Regions from separate parts of the Homo sapiens genome. Here region 2 is linked to region 1. Evidence: promoter capture Hi-C in 16 types of primary human blood cells and fetal thymus (Javierre and others, 2016). All regions are on one chromosome and are shown on one strand. Each heading gives the region's core, a stretch centred on a gene start or on the middle of the fragment in contact. The rest is flanking DNA. Distances are from core to core; before and after follow the strand shown.

Region 1 (4,254 bases), core at 1,104-3,603:
TGGAAAAAATGTCTTCCACAAAACCAGTCCCTGGTGCTAAAAAGGTTGGGGACCACTGCTCTACTTAACACTTTCACTAGGATCCCTTAAAGAGAGGACTAAATAATCATCACAATAACTTTCCTTTCTGTTTATAAAGAATAGATACCAATTAGAACAAATACCTGAGAAAAATGTGGTACTGTGTTGCAGTCACACAGTCTTCATCTTCTGCTATATAAGCAGTGGTTTGTTACCCTTTTCCCTCCTGTAAGCTGCTTTCACGAGTCAACCCTGACCACCAATATGGGAACTCAGGTAATGATAATAGCCATGACTTATTGAGAACTTACTGAATAATAAGACTTTTGCATACATTATGGTGGCCAGCTAAGAGCTGTCTCCTCAAACCCATTTGCCCCCTCTTCACCGTAGTGAGCTGTCACCATGGGTGCGCAGCTGCTCCAGGCACAGACAGGGAGCCCCATGCAGTGGATGACAGAGCTGTCCCACCTGCCAGGGTCCTTGAATGGTCTCGTGGCACAGATCCTGCTGTGGGCAGTTACTGGAGAGGCATAAACTTCCATTTGAGGAATCTGTTTGATTGGGCACTTTAGTCAAACACCAACTAATATAATTACCTCAGCTAATCCCTAAAAAACACAGGGGAACTAAGATGTAAGTACCACCTACCTCATTGAGTTACTGTAAGGATGAGAAACTGCATGCAGAGTCCTCATATACACATTTTCACTACTCCTATTTGAAAACATTTGTACTATTATTAGCCCCATTTTACAGATAAGAAAGTGGTAAATAAAATGCTCAAGACCGTATAGTTAATGTGTGGTAGCGCCAGAGTGGGAACTTAGACATCCAGCCTTAAAACTGATCTTTTAACCTCTGTGCTATTCTGCTTCCAGAAGGATGAAATGAGATCATACATAAAGAGCTTGGCCCAGCTGAGGAGCCGTCACCTAACCGTGCTCAGGAGTGCATCATGGTTGAGAGTGTGGGCTGTGGAGGTGATGGGCATCCAATGGCATCCAATTCTGCCCTGCTAGTATTAGATTTGTGCTTAGGCAGAAACCTTGGTTTTCTCATCTGTGAAAAGAGGGTGATACTACCAACCTTATAAGGCTGTAGTGAAGATTAAAGGAAGTAACATGTACCAACGGCTTATGACCGAGCCAGGCACAAGGCAGCGTTCAATGATGCAAGCAGAGGAAGAAGGGAACAGCTGGGGCTTCCTGCCCGTTTCCTCTGTCCTAACAGCTCCTTTTTGCAGACACTGGGAATCAAAACCAAAACGCATGCAACCTTCCACCTTGAAGAACAGCACCACATCATCTCTTTGCTAAGCCTGATTCCCGTTTTCTGGATAGGAAACTGACACACAAAGTATCTCCAGAATCATATCAGAGGTAAGTAGCAGGCCAGGATCGAGACGCAGCTCCAAATCTCCGGCCATAACGCTGCATGGCCCCTCACCCGGCTACCTCCCCTCTCAAAACACTCTGAGTCAGATAGAGGAGCTCTGTCCATGAGTGAACGAACGAATGAATAATTTAAATTTTTTAAATCAATTTGACAAATGAAAAGAGGGTGTACGGAGGTTAAACGTGGTTCCACCATGCGTTGGCTATGAGTCCTTGACCCCGCCAGCTTGTTTCCCAATCACTAAAATAAGGATTTGAACACCTCCTTTGCAGGGTCCCGGTGAACATCAAATGAAGAACTATGTGTAAGCGCCAGGTACAGTGTACCTGGCACGTATTAGGTTTTAATAAACGGCAACCAACTCTGACTAACGGTTGTCCCTGGGGAACACCTGCCAGGCACAGAGGGAGGCCCTACGGAGGCGCAGGGCAGAACTGGGCAGCAGCCGTCTAGGGAAGTGGCGGCGGATTAGAGAAACGGGCGGCCAGGCACAGGCACCCCCTACGAGTGAGATCTGGCCCCTCGAGCCAGATCTCCAGCCAGATGCCTCCAGCATCTGCTGCCGCGGAGAGCACGCACCAGGTCCCTCCTGCCCGGCAACAGGCGCACTCCGAGCGAGCCCAGCGCCTCTGCTCACCATGCCAGGTCCCGCTGCCAGAGGCCTAGAGGAGAAGCCCAGCTAGGGGCCGGCGTCTGGACGCCCGTGTCCCGACTGCGCGGGGTGAGGAGGAAGTGGAGATGTTTTCGGATCGCGAGCGCCGCGCGAGAACCCCGCCGCAACGGAAAGAAACAGACCCCTCGGCGCCGCCTCCCGCGTGGCGCCGCGGGGCCCCTCCCCCATACCTGCCGAAGTGCCCCACGTGGTCATAAATCCCCTCGAAGTGGCGGGACCCCATGGTGCGGCCGTGCACTGGGCGCCGAGTTAGCCGAGCTCCGGGGACTGCGGGTAGCGCGCCCCGCCCCGAACCTCCCCGCCCGGCCTCCTGCTCTCCCCGCGCGTCCCAGTGCTCGGGACCAGCGCGAGGCTGTATTCTGTTCCTCCCTCCGTCGCTTGGCCCCTCGGTCCCCCCAAGTATCTTCGGCTTTTTTCCTGCCGCCTCGGCCTCCTTCCCGGCGCGCTGTGGTCCCGGCGCCCGCGGTCGCATGGTGCCCTCGCCCCCAGCGCCGCCGCTCTCCCACCCGCCCCGCCGCCCACCCTGGCTCTTGGCACCATGTCTGCGGGGTCGCCACGCTCGAGGGAAGCCCCGACGCCTGGGAAAAGTTGTCGCTGAGAGAGAGCCCAGGGTGGGAATGCAAGGGCTAGGCTCGGTCCGGGGGCCGCAAGAATATATAGCCTTCAGCATGACGCCCCTCAGAAACATGGCTCTCAAACTTTAATGCCTAAGAATCTACTGCAGAACTTGGTTTAAAAGGTACATTTAAGGCCGGGCGCACTTGCTCACGCCTGTAATCCCAGCACTTTGGGAGGCCGAGGCGGGCGGATCACCTGAGGTCGGGAGTTCAAGACTAGCCTGACCAACATGGAGAAACCCCGTCTCCACTAAAAATACAAAATTAGCCGGGCGTGGTGGCACATGCCTGTAATCCCAGCTACTCGGGAGGCTGAGGCAGAAGAATCGCTTGAACCCTGGAGACGGAGGTTGCGGTGAGCCAAGATCGTGCCATTGCACTCCAGCCTGAGGAACAAGAGTGAAACTCCGTCTCAAAAAAATAAAAGTACAATTAGGCCGGCGTGGTGGCTCAGGCCTATAATCCCAGTGCTTTGGGAGGCCGAGGCAGGAGGATTGCTGGAGCCAAGGAGTTTGAGACCAGCCTGGGCAACGTATAGCGACACCTCGTCTATACAAAAATAAAAAATAAATAAATGTACATTTATTTTGAGACTCCATCCCTGATGATTCAGGATGCCTGGGGAACAGGAATCTGATTTTTTTTTTTTTTTTTTTTTTTTTTTTTTTTTTTTTTTTTGAGACGGAGTCTCGCTCTGTCGCCCAGGCTGGAGTGCAGTGGTGCAATCTCGGCTCACTGCAAGCTCCACCTCCCGGGTTCAAACCATTCTCCTGCCTCAGCCTCCCAAGTAGCGGGGAGGTGCCCGCCACCACGTCCGGCTAATATTTTGTATTTTTAGTAGAGACGGGGTTTCACCGTGTTAGCCAGGATGATTTCGATTTCCTGACGTCGTGATCCGACCGCCTTGGCCTCCCGAAATCTGATTTTTAATAAGCAGACCATGGCATTCCAAGCCACACTTTGGAGTGGGCAGGGGTTTGGCCCATAGCCAACCCAGGCAGGGGGTGACCTTCCTTCTGGAAGGTATCAAGTGAATGAACTTTAGGGAAGAAAGGTCAATTGCTGGTCCACAGCGCTGAAGCAGAAAAGCCAGTTTCCGACTATATCCACAGTGAGAGTTGCCTTCTCTAGTCAGCCTGGCAGTCACTGGCCCCACTGTTGGCGTGCTATTCCACTCTATAAGGCCACTAAACCTTGAGTTCCTAGAGAACAGGGATGCATTCTCTTCGTCACTTTGGTAGCCTCAGTTCCATAGCAAATGCCCTCTCTCTGAACTTCTCCACCTCATCCTTAAAATCTGAGCACACCTATCGCTTTCTCAGAGAAGTCCAACAGTTTGAGGGCCAGGGCAGAGCTCTACCAGAGCAGAGCATCAAGAGTGGGTCTGATGGCTCCGAGAAGCGGCAGGATCTTGCAAGGCTGTGTTGAACATTTTACTTTGACCAAAGGACAAGGAGAACTCCCTGTAGACAGTCTTAAAGCAGAAGAGTAACAGGCGCAAACTTGTACTTGAATAATATTTGAAAGAGAGGAGAGTCCATTTCC
Region 2 (4,254 bases), core at 234-2,733, 400 kb after region 1:
CGCCTGCCCCAGGACATAATGCCTCTAATGCCTTAAGCTTGAGCAAAGGAATCTGGGGCCCACTCCCACTGCGGGCCGTCACGCGAGAGATACTTGGGCTGACCGCGCCGAAGAGGCGTTTTAGTTGGTATTGCTGTGGAAATCCATGCTTATATAAAAGCCCAGAGATCCCGTGGATGCTTAGGCCTTGTTCCTGGCGGCGGTCGCACCGGTGGCCACCAATGGCCTTCCTAGGCCCTGCCACCGGATCCCTGGCTCCTCTGCGCACGAGTGCGGCTAGGGTGGCGGTGCAGCGGAGTAACTGGCGTGGCCAGCTTCATTGAGAGGCGGCGACCAATGGGCTCCTGGGCCGCACTCAGAGCCTGGCCCCAGGGTGTGGACCAATGGGCGTTTTAGGAGTGTTAGCTGTTCTTGGAGCTGTCCCTTGACAAAAAGCAACTGGAAAAGGGAATCCAGGCAGACACGTGCTACCGAGACTTTAAGGCACGACGGGAAACCCGGTTTCTAGCAGTGTATCTTGAACGATTCCATTGTAGAAAAAAATACTAGTCATAGCTAAAATGTCACACGTCTCATTTTTTTCAAGCTTCGTGTGACACTTAAAATGTCTATAGCGCTTACTACGTGCCAGGCTCACGTGAGATTATAGGAAGCGGACTTTGGTCATGGAGAAGCTTAGTATTTCCTTCATTTCACAGATGAGAAAGATGGTATTTGTGATAGACGTTTGGTAAAACGATTGTGATCAGGATAATTAACCTAGAAAATCTTGGCAAGAACCTAGAAAATCTTGGGTAAGAACAGTCCTAGAAAACGAATAACAGAAGTTGTCACTTTGGCTTTTTAAATGTTTGAGCCCTTAAATAATAGTAAGTACATGTTCTTAATAAAGGGAAGAAGATTTTGTTCTCCCCAAGTTCTTGGCGGTTTGGCTGTTTAGAGCTTCCTGAGTCAAAGTGGAGAGAGGAGGAAGAGGCTTTTTACAAAGCAGCCTGCTTTCTTTAAATGTTTAAGAACCCTTTTTACTTTGTACTTTAATCAGCCCAAATTGTTTTACTGCTCCAGTGTGGCTTTTAAAATCATGGCCAAAGTTAAACTTTGAAGGACAAAATATTCCCTTGTGTAGATGATTTAGTGCCATCCATTTTGTGGACATGTAACATTCATTGAACAACTATTGGTAGTACACTGCCACATTGTAACTGTTGTAGATAAAGCAAGTTAAGCAAGAACTGAAAAATATGTTGATTTAACTAAGGTCCCGTGATAACCTTCGTTGGAACATTTTTCAGTGACCACTCAAGTGGTTAGGTTATTTACCAGGATGTTTAAAAAAGCCTGAAATAGTAGGTGTTCCTTGAATCACCTAAAATCAACAGCCTAGCAAAGAGAGTATCATGGACGGAGTCCGGTCGGTGGGGACATGGGGCCAGCCCCAGAGACCCCAGGGAAGGATAATCGGTCATCTAGAAGAATAAAGCGTGACATGTTTTACTCAAATGACGTGATTAAGTGCATAGCCTCTGGAATAACAAGATTTGAATTCAAACAGCATTTAATAGCTGTGTGAGCTGTTTCCTCATCTGTAAAATGGAGACAATAATGGTACATAGCTCATGGAAGTTGTGAAGAATAAATAAGTTAATATGTTATATGTAGTACGTAAACTGTTATCTTTAACACTTTAAAGACAGGATCCCTCTATAGCCCAGGCTGGAGTGCAGTGGCAGGATCATGGCTCACTGCAGCCTTGACCTCCTGGGCTCTATTAAGATGTGAATAAACTAAAAGTAGGTTAAAAGATGAACAGATGGAATTAAACAAATCTGTTTATAAAGCATAATAAACATAGGGACATAAAAACGATTAAGAGAATGAAAGGCTTAAATGTCCAAAGAGAGCATTAGTATTGATGCTAAAGACAAGGATAACAAGATAAGGATATGAGGGAGAAAAAAATCCTGGAAAAATAGCTTTCCAAAACTAATGCAAGAAGAAATGGAGAACCCAAAACAGTCCTAGAACACCTAAATAACTTGAATCAGTCAATCATCTAGGCCCAGATGATTTCACTGGAGTGTTCTGTATAATTCAAGGGAGAAAATATCCAACTTTTTTCACGCATTCTTCTGGGAAACAACATACTTCCCTCGGTTTTCTCATCCCAAAGTCTGAAATATTTTTTTCTCCTACACGATATTTACCTTTCATATTTAGATCTGCAATCCATCTGGAATTGATTTTGTGTGTGGTGTGAGGGAATACACTTTAAACAAACTTGGCTCATCAGTCCAAGCTTTAATGCTTGGAATCTTTTCTGAATGTACACCTTTTTACTAAACACTGCTTCCCTCTTGTAGACCATTTAAGATATTTTATCTTAAGTGAACAAATTATGTAATACTGAGAAATTTAACAAAGAAAAATCTTTTATGATATAGCTTGGGTTAAACAATACTGTTGGAGAAAAGCAGCAGTCCAGGTATATCCAGATGAATAAAGGACAATTAAGGGAGAGGCGGTTTCTTAGGGGTAACCTGCAGTTTTCTCTGATTTTTCAGATTTTACGGATGTTGAATAAAAATCAGTGACCATTTAAAAAATGGTTTAGTTGTTGGATCAAAGTGCTGTAACAAACAAAAGCTTTTTATAAGACATGGCAGCTTTAGGGAGGGTGAGAGTAGTAAGAAGGAAATCTGTTAGAAAATAGAAAATTTTGCTGAGAAAAGAATGATTTTTCAGGACTGGAAATCCTATTACTGTGCTTTACTCAGATTTTATAAACTAAAACATAATTTTTAGTAAAGGATTGGGGCAGTTGTAAAGATAGTCATACCTCAGCTTAACTTTCCCCAAACTCATGACTTATTTGACTACATCATTATGCAGCATTATTGCAATATCAATAATTTACATTGAAGGAATTTACAACCCGTTGCCAAAAAACCTTTTAGTGTAATGTTTCAGAGTAGAAATGCTTCCTGCTAAAGAATAAAGCTTCTCGTTACATTCCTCCCAGCAGTTTCAAAAAGGTTTCATGGCTGGGCTTGGTGGCTCATGTCTAATCCCAGCACTCTGAGAGACCAAGGAGTTTGAGAGCCCAGTCTGGGCAACATAGTGAAATCCTGACTCTACAAAAAAAATTGAAAAATTATCTGTGCGTGCTGGTCCATCCTGGTGCGTGTCTGCATCCCAGCCACTCGGGAAGCTGAGGTGGGAGGATTTTTTTGAGCCATTGGGGGATCGAGGCTGCAGCGAAATGAGATTGCACCAGTGCGCTCCATCTGGTGGCAGAGTGAAACCCTCTCAACAACAACGAAAATATTTCAACTGTTGTTTACAAACCATGTATCTTTAAGAAGCACATGTTGAAAGTAGCAGAAAACTGAGAGGAGTATCCCGATTTGGGGTAAAAATTTGAGATAGAGAAACAATAATGTGATGATAATAGGTTCATATCTTTGAACAAAAGGGAGGAGGCTTATTTCTCAGGTTATCTGAATTCACTGCCGCAGGAAGGCACCCTCAGAATCTAACTTCTGGTCAGTCTAGCTTTACTCAAGAATGATCTGGTTTTAGGATGCCTTTTACCTAAAGACTGCTTACTACCTGGGGTAGAGGCACCCTGATGAATGTACTGTAATGAGAGCCTCTAAAACAGACCTAAAAATATGAGGTAAGAGCAGAATTGAGAAGCTGCAGTGACTTTGGATAAATTACCTGAACTCTGAAACCAGCTGGTTTTACATTAGGAAGTAATGAGTAATCTAATGACCTGGAAGCTTTTCAAATAAAAATTTGCAGGCATCATCCTCAGAAAGTGTCTGACCTAACTGGGTATGGGAATAGCATCTATGTATTGAGTTTTCAGGTGATTAGAGCATAACCCTGCACTAATGGGATCCTTCTGTATTTAAGTTCTTGGTCTTTTTTTTTTTTGGACAGTCTCAGTCACCCAGGTTCGAGTGCAGTGGTGCCATCTCAGCTCACTGCAACCTCCGCCTCCCAGGTTCAAATGATTCTCCTGCCTCAGCCTCCCTAATAGTGGGTACTACAGGTATGCACCACGATGCCTGGCTAATTTTTGTATTTTTAGTAAAAGACAGGGTTTCGCCATGTTGGCTAGGCTGGTCTTGAACTCCTGACTTCAAGTGATTGAGCCATCGCCCCTGGTCCCTTTGTCCATTTTTTAATCACTTTTTGTTGAGTTGTGTGTAGGTGTGTCTTTTGCTTTGGATATTGACCCCTTATGAG

The links. Contacts are between HindIII fragments. The CHiCAGO score rates a contact against its expected background, and 5 or more counts as called.
Region 2: a contact is called between a fragment that was not itself captured here and the fragment with the promoter of SLC22A16 in region 1, in 1 of 17 cell types (M2 macrophages). The highest score is 5.0, in M2 macrophages.

What each region holds. Positions count from the first base shown.
Region 1 is chr6:110,474,260-110,478,513 of GRCh38, forward strand. SLC22A16 (solute carrier family 22 member 16) reads right to left here and starts at 2,354. Exons shown (of 8, transcript NM_033125.4): 1 at 2,263-2,354. The coding sequence starts at 2,315. LOC105377938 (a long non-coding RNA gene) reads left to right here and starts at 1,258. Exons shown (of 2, transcript XR_942860.3): 1 at 1,258-1,403. The HindIII fragment of the contact is 6,876 bases long and covers 1-4,254 here.
Region 2 is chr6:110,876,042-110,880,295 of GRCh38, forward strand. The region is part of intron 1 of AMD1 (adenosylmethionine decarboxylase 1); the gene reads left to right. Among named protein-coding and RNA genes, the nearest start is that of AMD1, 3.4 kb to the left of the region's middle. RefSeq lists an enhancer at 1-596. The HindIII fragment of the contact is 1,622 bases long and covers 673-2,294 here.